Regions from separate parts of the Homo sapiens genome. Here region 2 is linked to region 1. Evidence: promoter capture Hi-C in 16 types of primary human blood cells and fetal thymus (Javierre and others, 2016). All regions are on one chromosome and are shown on one strand. The core of a region is centred on a gene start or on the middle of the fragment in contact, and the rest is flanking DNA. Distances in the headings are between cores, read along the strand shown. Region 1 holds the start of IFT57 (intraflagellar transport 57). Region 2 overlaps MYH15 (myosin heavy chain 15).

Region 1 (4,339 bases), core at 1,101-3,600:
CAAACATTGCTTCTTCCCTCATGAATGAATTAAATCAGAACTTCAGTGAAAGTAGGCCCAGTATGGGGTATATTTCAAAAGATTTCTACATGTTTATAAGGTGTAGTCAGGATTAAGAACCTGTGAATGTCACATCACCAGTCAAACATCTGTGGGCTCTTGCTTAATCCCCTAGTCTACTAAACACAGTTCTACGAGGATCAGTATGATTTATACCTAAACATTATAGGAATAAAACTCACTAGCAACAACATTCAAGTCAGTTTAATCAAAGATCTTATTTGTCTTGTTCATGTGTAGCTATCATTATTATGTTTACAATGTATTTACAACTATTATAACCATTGTCATAAAAATCTGTCGTGTACTCCTTCATGTTTCCCAAACTTTTTCCTGCAGGATAAATGTAAATGTTCTGGAAGATAACAGAAAGCTGGGAAGAAAAAAGGCCATGAAGTCCTTCCAGGTATATGCTCACTATCCTTTCAAAGCACCCACCCACCAAAAAGTCATCTTTTCCTTATCGGCAGATAACTCTTCTAGGGCAGAGGAATGAACACCAATAGATACTGTAAACCTAGGACAGTGGTTCCCAAACATTAGTGTCCATCAGAATCATCTGGAAGGCTTACTGAAACAGATGCTAGGCCCCATCCCTATAATTACTGAAAAGGTAGACCTGGGAAAGGGCCTGAGGAATTTCATTTCTAGTAAGTTCCCAGGTGATGCTGATGCTGTTGGTCTGGTGATCACATTTTGAGAACCATTGGACTAGGATATCCCCACACAAATCCATGATTCAAAGTATCCTGCTGAACCCCTGAGGACACAGTGCAAGAGATGACATCAACAGAACCTTAAGGACATTTTGTTTTCATTTTAAAAATATACTTGGAAAAAAATGCATTTTTATTAACATAGGAAATGTTGGTTGTCTATATTATCCTGATCAATTCACTTTAAGTAATAATCCCAGGACTACCTTTTCTAACATGGATCAAGCAACACTACTTTTTCCTTTATCTTTTCTCCGACCATGGACTAATTTAATATGAACAGTTTATATCAAGCCTACATATCTTTCAATTCAAGTTATTGGAAGACAGCAGTGGAATGAGATTAAAACTATCAAGGGAAATTATTTGAGCCTGGCTGTAGACATTAAGTACTATAGATTCTTAATACTGATTGCCTTTTATGGAATAAAATATACAAATGTAAGTATTAAAGTGAAAGAAAAGCTATAAAACTGATTTATCTGGCTACTGCTAAGCTACAGTGATTTGAGGAGAAGGTCCTAGCTGACCACTACCCTCAGCAAGTAATGGCATTGCTTTCAGGATATGTTGGACTTTTCCCCCACCGGAACAAGGGTAAAACTTTAGGTTCTATGATAGGGGGACAATTCAATAGTTGTCATTCGTCTTTTCCACTTTTCAGTTTCTGAGAGTATGGTTATTACAAAGGCAGAAGTCTTTTAAACCATAGCAAGTAGTTAACAAGTTTACTAACCGCATTTAAAGTGCTCCTTAACAGGATCCTAAGTACCCACGGTCCCCAGTTGTATGAACAGGGTCTTAAACAACAACAAAAAACCCCAAACTAGAAAAAAAGCCTTAAGTGATAATGGCATTCCTCTCTGGAGGCGAATTTTGGACGGTCTTATAATTTTTCTAGACATTTACTTGTGTTTTTCTGAGTTTTCTTCAATGAGTATTTGTTTCATCTTTACAATCAGAAAATATAGTTTGTGTTTTCTGGTAATGCGTGTGTGTTGGAAAAAAACAGGCAAGCTGTCTTCCGATCCTTTCTGCCGTTCCAAAACTTATTTATTCTCTCTACAAAAATACCAAGTCAGGGCTGCGTGAGCTCCACGGACCTCCCGGGAGTTTGGGGTGAAGTGCCCTTCCCTGGCTAGGAAGACGGAGGCAAGGAATTGCTAACCCGCTCTCACGAAACTGGTTCCCAGCAGGACCAAGGAGGGCATCTCCCTGGGGGCTAGCAGGCACCCGGGCGCTCGGGGACGCCGGCACCCACCTGGACGGGGCCTTCAGGTTGCTCTTCCGGAGGAACTCCTCCTCGTAGCGGAGCAGCTTCAGCTTCTCCACCAAGTCCTCCATCACCACGAACATGTGGTAGGCCGCGCCGGGCCCCCGCTCCAAGACCACTTCCCCGGTCCCTTCGCCACGGGACCTAGGCACCCCATCTTCCAAACCCGACGTCGTGACGACGGCCAGAGCAGCAGTCATCGCAGAACGGACAGAGTCCAGCGTGGGCTCAGGCCCACAGACCTCTGCGGCCTAAGCCGCCAGCCCTGCCGCCGCCAGTACAGCCACGACCGGTTACCAGGCGACCACCGGACAATCCGTCACCAGGGAAACTAGACTCCGCCTCCTTCCCTCCAATCAGGGCGGCTTTCCTGAATGACGTCACCTGTGGCCCTCTTCTTGCCCTGCCTCTGTGGAAATGGTGGTCGGGAAGCAGCCCCGCCCCTCATGGAGGCGTGGCGTTCGCGCCCCACTGCCGGCTGCGTCTTCTCCCTCGCTGAAAGTCTGAAGGGAGCCGGCTTACGTTTCTGCTCCGCTTGCCTAGTGAGTCTTGAGCTGGCTTGAGGTGTGTTGGACCTGGTGGTTGCTAAAAGCAATTAAGCGGGCATCTGGGTCAGCTAGTAGCTGTTAAAAAGATTAAAGGGAGGTGAAGACGTGTAGCACTGAAGGCTGCACTGGCTCACTGATACCTTTATTTTCTCAGAATTGAAAAGTTTTTCATAGTTGTAAAGATAGTCAATACCATAGGTTTCACTTTTACTGCAGGAACTTTCCAACGAGAGGTTTCTCTCGTTCTTTCTTTAATTTTATCTTTCTCTCACTAGGCAATGCTGCACTTAACAGTATATTGTAAAGCTTGAAGTACTGTATTACGTTGCCTGGCTGTTACTCCAGTGCTAGGAAAGTGGTTGGAAGGATGAGGAAGACAATGAACAAAAGGAGGCATTTGGAAGGATTTGTTTTACTTCAAAAACAAGAATACTAAGCTTCCATCCTGCTGCTTAATCTGTTTCAAACCCATTACATGTAGTATAAAGTGTTTGGGTACTTCGTTAAATCCAACAGAATAGAGATGGTCTTAAAAGGAATTTCCCTGCCCTAAAGCTCTAAGGGTGGCTAAAGATAGGGTGTTACTACTGTATTCTGCAGTTATTGACCTAGAAAATTTAAGAAAAGGTACATAACTGACCACAGAAATGGCCCAGCTTTACAGTTTTCAAAAGGCTTCTGTATTAGGCAATTTTCTTAACAGTTGCAAAAAATGAGGTAAGTGGTGGATGCCTGGCAGTTTTTGGGAAGAAAACTTAGTACAAGAGATTGAACATATGTTCATGTTTATAACGTGACTTTTAAGGGCTCTCTGATCTCTTGTATCTGCCACTACAAAATATAGAAGGGCTACATTTTTGGACAACTGAAATTTGAAATGTATCTACAATATCCTGTTTTTATTAGAAAAAATGAGAACACTTTTCATTGTAATCCGTCTACAGCTAACTTGTTTCTGATACTAATAAGGTTATCAAAGTGAAAAGTCAGAAGGGCAAATACCATTTTTTCATTAAAGAAAGGAAGTACATAAAATTACAGACTTATGTAGAGAATAACCTGAAGGGCAGCCCACTGAGAATTGCTTTTTAAATAAATAACATTGCTTGCCTACCACAAGTCATGAGCCAGCTGCTTTTAATAAAGTTGAGTGAGAAAATTGGATTTGATGTTACCCCACTACCAAATTGATCTTTCCTGGTCTTTGCCTTTTTGAAACAGTGATTCTCCCCGATAAGTCCATACCCCAACCACCACCACATGTGCAGCTTGGGGGTGTTATATGTATGTATAACAGTCACAGTAGTGTAAGATAGATGTATGGCTTTATAAGACTGAAAAATGAAAGCTTAGATATGTTTTGGGGTCCTAAGTTAACTAACAAGCAAACTGGGGCTTTTTACATGACTCTGAAAAAGCTCTCAGACTTTGGAAGTAAATTTATTACACTCAGGGAGGGAGATGTTCCTGCCAGGCATGCTGCCTACTTAAGATGTTCTGACATTTTCAGGAAGTTACGTAACACAGTATGAAATAGTCAAACGTTGCTTTTTAGCTGATAAATCCTCCAGCAACGTATGTATTTTAACTTGGGGGAAACAAAACGACTCCCAGGGTCTTAGCCATTTCCTTCCCAGGTAAAATACTGACACAGCCTGGCCTGAAAGCAGTATACAGAATAATTTCCCCCCTTAATTGTGAAGAAGAAAAAAACCCAAAAATATAAAGTATTTCCAGTAATT
Region 2 (4,339 bases), core at 678-3,177, 260 kb after region 1:
AGGACCTTGTGAATGAACCCATGGACTTCAATTAGGCTGCATGATCTTACCTGGGAGAGGTAACATTTAGCTAGAGAGGTGGTTCTCAAGCATCAGTGTGTATTGGAATAGCCTGGAGAGCTAATCAAAGATTAAACAACAGGCTCCCTGAAGCAGGTTAGGGGCTGGGCCGCTCTAGTTTTATCGTGTTACCCAGGTGATTCTGATACACATACAAGTTTGAGAACAAAGTTGTTATTGTGGTAGTCCTCAACTTTGACTGCACACTGGGGTCCCTGGCAAGTTGTAAAAACAAATACTGATGCCTGAAATTCACCCACAGAAATCTGGCTTGTCTGGCTTGGGTAAGGCCTGAGCTTCAGGATTTTAAAAGTTCCCCAGCGATTCTGTTGAGCAGCCAAGTTTGCAAACTACTGTCTAGAGAATAATAACCAGGTTTCGTAAGTTTATTTTGAAATCAGGAAGATGGAAAGAACAAAGTATGACTTCACCTGAAAACAGGTAAAAAGGTAGAGAAACTCAAAAAGGAATCTTTTCCAAATTTCCAATTCTGTCCCAGTTCAGTCCCATCTGCAAATAACCAGATATGAAAGAATGAAGCAAAATCCAGTTTTGTCAGTCTACAGGGGTTATGATAAAGATATTAATCTCTTTTATGGAAGGTTATAATACAATTTTTGAGCTGTTCATATTTCATTAATTTATTAAACAAAGTTAACTGAGCATTTGCTATGTGTAAGCCCTGATGCTAGATAATGTAATAAGAAGATAAATAAACAAGGCAAAAATCCCTGGCATCAAGAAATTATAATCTATGAGAGTAAATAAGACATGGGAAAAAATAGTATGTCAGTAAAACAACTGCATAAGAGACACACAAATCGAGTATCACAAAACTGTGAAGTAGGGAAAGAGCCCTTCTGGACTGCATGACTGGGGAAGGATTAAAAAAGAAACAACATTCAATCTGAGCCTTGAAGGATGACAAGAGTTTTTGTAGGCAAATATGGGAGAAGAAGAGTTTCCTTAACAATGAACAGCACGACTTGAAGCCACAGGCGTTGAAGAGTACAAGGTATGGTCAAAGAAGAGGTTGTAACCCAGAGGGACTGGACTACGATACCAGGGAGTGAGTGAGAAACTGAGAAAAGCGGGTGACTTCTGGTCGCAGAAGACATCTAATGCCGCTATAACATATTAATTAAAGAATGGGGAAATGTTAAAGGAGCTGTAAGCAGAGAAATGACATAATTAGAGTCATGCTTTAGGATGCTTAATTTTGGAAATGTGCAAGACAGACCAGAGTAGGAAGTTTTAAAGTACAGAGTGAACCCATTGCAGAATGCTGAAGTGTGAGATGCTGAAGCTCCAAATTTGTAATGAGAAAGGGAGAAAGAGAGACTGAGAAATATGACTAGGAGGTTTCCAGTCTGAGAAGTAGAAAGAAGAACAATACCATAAATATGAATAGAAATGCCAATAGGAAGACATCACTTAGGGGAGAAGATGATGGACTTTTAGCCATGCAGAGTTTAGGATACTAGAAAATATGCAGCTGAGAGTTGGAAATATGGAGTTGGAACTCAAGAAAGAGGCAAAGGCTAAGATGCCCCTTTGGGTTTGGGTGCCCTTCCCCGTTCCTTCTTCTCCATCTGTCCAGCTCCTTCAAAACCTTCCTAAATAATTAACTGGGAAAAATTTACCAAAGCTTAATATATTAAGAACCCTTAGAATTAAAGAAAAATTCAACACCTCCATTTTTAAAATGAGCTAAAGGTAGAAGCATACTGAAAAAAACTCAGTATCCAGTAAGATGCTTAAGTTAATTATGGTACATTCATACAATGGAATATTTTGTAGCCATCTAAAAAGATATTGCAGAAAAGACAAAAAGATGTTCACATATAATTTGGTAAAAAAATACTAGGCTGAAACAACATGAATATGATCACATTTTTATTTTAAAAAGTTATATGTGCATATTCAACTAGAAAATGCGTAAAAAATATGTCCTTTGGCATTCACAGTGATTGTCTCTGAGTAGGTAGGGTTCACTTAATGAATAATTAGCCATTACTATGTGCCAGGCACATTTTAAAACCTGGAAATATAGCAGTGAACACACCAAATGAGGTCCCTGCTCTTACAAAGCTTACATCTGGTGGAGATTGAGGGGTGGAGGCTAGGACATTCAATAAAAACTAGCTGTATGAATGACATGAAGAAAAATATTTAGATTAGGGGGATAGTGGTGGAGGTAGCTAGAGAAGGCTTTTCTAATAAGGTAACATCCAAGAAGTTACTTTAATAAGTGAGGGAGTAAGACATGAGGACAGGAGAAAAGTTCCAGGCAGAAAGAAGAGTTAGTGAAAATAGTCCTGCAATAGGAGTGCTTACATGCTCCAAAAACATCCAAGAGGCCAGGACATGTGAGTGGAGGGAAATGAGAGACGAGAAAATGATAGATTTCGCTACTAACGGTAGGGATTAGAGAGAGACAGAGAAGTATTGGTTGGTGCAAACATAATTGCGGTTTTTGCTGTTAAAAGTAATGACAAAAACCAAAATTACATTTGCACCAACCTAATATCATAGAGGTTAAGGAAGCTGTGACAGGAACGTGGGGTTTTATTTGGAGCCATTGTTGAGTTTAGAGCAGAAGCAGGACATGGTGGAACAAGGGCTGACTGACACTGTGAAAGGACTGACAGTAGCTTCTGGGTGCAGAGCTATCCACCTATCCATCGTAGGCAAGGATGCAAGCAGGGAGACCAGGAAGGAGGCTGTAGTAAGAAACGGTGGCTCGGGCTAGGTGGTGGCAGTGGGCATGGCCATGGTGATAAGTTGTGAGCTTTTGGATGTATTTCAAAGGTAGAGACAATGAAAAAGAGAGGAGTCCAGGATGATTCTGAGATTTGAGTCAGGGCAATTGGGAGAACCTAGGTGGCATTTTTGAAGAAGACCGAGAAATGAAGAGTTGGTAGTAAAGGCAGGGTGGGATGAAGAGTTCAGTTCTATTCATGTTGAGTTTGAGATGGGCACCAAAGAAATGAGCATAGAAAGGGAAGAGGAAAGATTCAAGGCTGGAGCCCTGAGCAGCCCTAGAGCAATTAGCAGTAGGGAAGATAAGGAAGCTCCAGCAAAGAACCTGAGAAGAAGCCAAAAGGGAGAGTGGAGGAGATTACACATTTCATTTGCTCATCTGTGTTTTTTGATTTATCAGTAAGTATGCCTTGTTTTTGTAATAAAAACCATTCTTTAAGAAAAGCCTTTGTTTTAAAGCATGGAAAAAGCAAACAGGATGGCAAAAATAAAATAAGATGCCATAAAAGCATATGTGAATATGTTAATATATAAGATGTTTACAAGATCTTCATAACACATTGTCTCACTTCATTCACATCTGTGCTGTGTCCTCTTCTCTGAGGGACTGACTTCCTGACCACCCTATCTACAACAACCTCTGTATCCTATTATTCCTTATTTTTTTAACTCTGCTTTACTTCCTTTTTGTATGGAACTTGTTACGTATTTATGTATTTATTGTCTAACTCCCACACTAGACAAGACAGGGACAATATCTTGTTCACGGATGTATCCCTAGCATCAAGAATAGTCCCTAGCACAGACTGGCCTCCAAAATTATTTGTTGCACAACAGGCCAGGCATGGTGTTTCAGGCCTGTAATCCCAGCACTTTGGGAGGCCGAGGTGGGTAGATCACTTAAGGTCAGGAGTTGAGACCAGCCTGGCCAACACGGCAAAACCCCATCTCTACTAAAAATATAAAAATTAGCCCAGTGTAGTGGTGCACCTGTAATCCCAGCTTCCCAGCTACTCGGGAGGCTGAGGCACAAGAATCGCTTGAACCTGGGAAGCAGAAGTTGCAGTGAGCTGATATTGCCCCCCTGTACTCCAGCCTAAGCCACAGAGCAAGACTCTGTCTCCATAAAAAAAAAAAAAAAAAAAATCACAAACTTGTCAAACAACAACAAAAAAATCCTAATTTTAAAAATAGGCAAAGGACTTAAATAGACATTTCTCAAAAGATATACAAATGGCCGATAAGCACATAAAAAGATGTTCAACATCACCAATCAGTAGGGAAATGCAAATCAAAACCACAATAAGATACCACTTTATACCCATGAAGATGGCTACTATAAAAAAAAAAAACCAAAAAACAGAAAACAACAAATGTTGGCATGGGTGTGAAGAAATTGGAAACTTTGTGCATTGCTGGTGAAAATGAAAAGAGGTATGGCCACTGTGGAAAACAATATGATGGCTCCTAGAAAATATAACAGATTTACCATTTATTCTAACAATTCCACTTCTAG

The links. The method cuts DNA at HindIII sites, captures the fragments that hold promoters and counts their contacts. A CHiCAGO score of 5 or more calls a contact.
Region 2: a fragment that was not itself captured here is called in contact with the fragment with the promoter of IFT57 in region 1 in 2 of 17 cell types (total B cells and naive B cells); the score reaches 6.7 in total B cells.

Annotation. Positions count from the first base shown.
Region 1 is chr3:108,220,074-108,224,412 of GRCh38, forward strand. IFT57 (intraflagellar transport 57) reads right to left here and starts at 2,351. Exons shown (of 11, transcript NM_018010.4): 1 at 2,038-2,351. The coding sequence starts at 2,249. LOC124909405 (a long non-coding RNA gene) reads left to right here and starts at 2,532. Exons shown (of 2, transcript XR_007095999.1): 1 at 2,532-2,613; 2 at 2,873-4,339. RefSeq lists an enhancer at 2,070-2,329 and a silencer at 2,265-2,558. The HindIII fragment of the contact is 9,168 bases long and covers 1-2,901 here.
Region 2 is chr3:108,479,254-108,483,592 of GRCh38, forward strand. All of the region lies in intron 11 of MYH15 (myosin heavy chain 15), which reads right to left. Among named protein-coding and RNA genes, the nearest start is that of MYH15, 29 kb to the right of the region's middle. The HindIII fragment of the contact is 443 bases long and covers 1,707-2,149 here.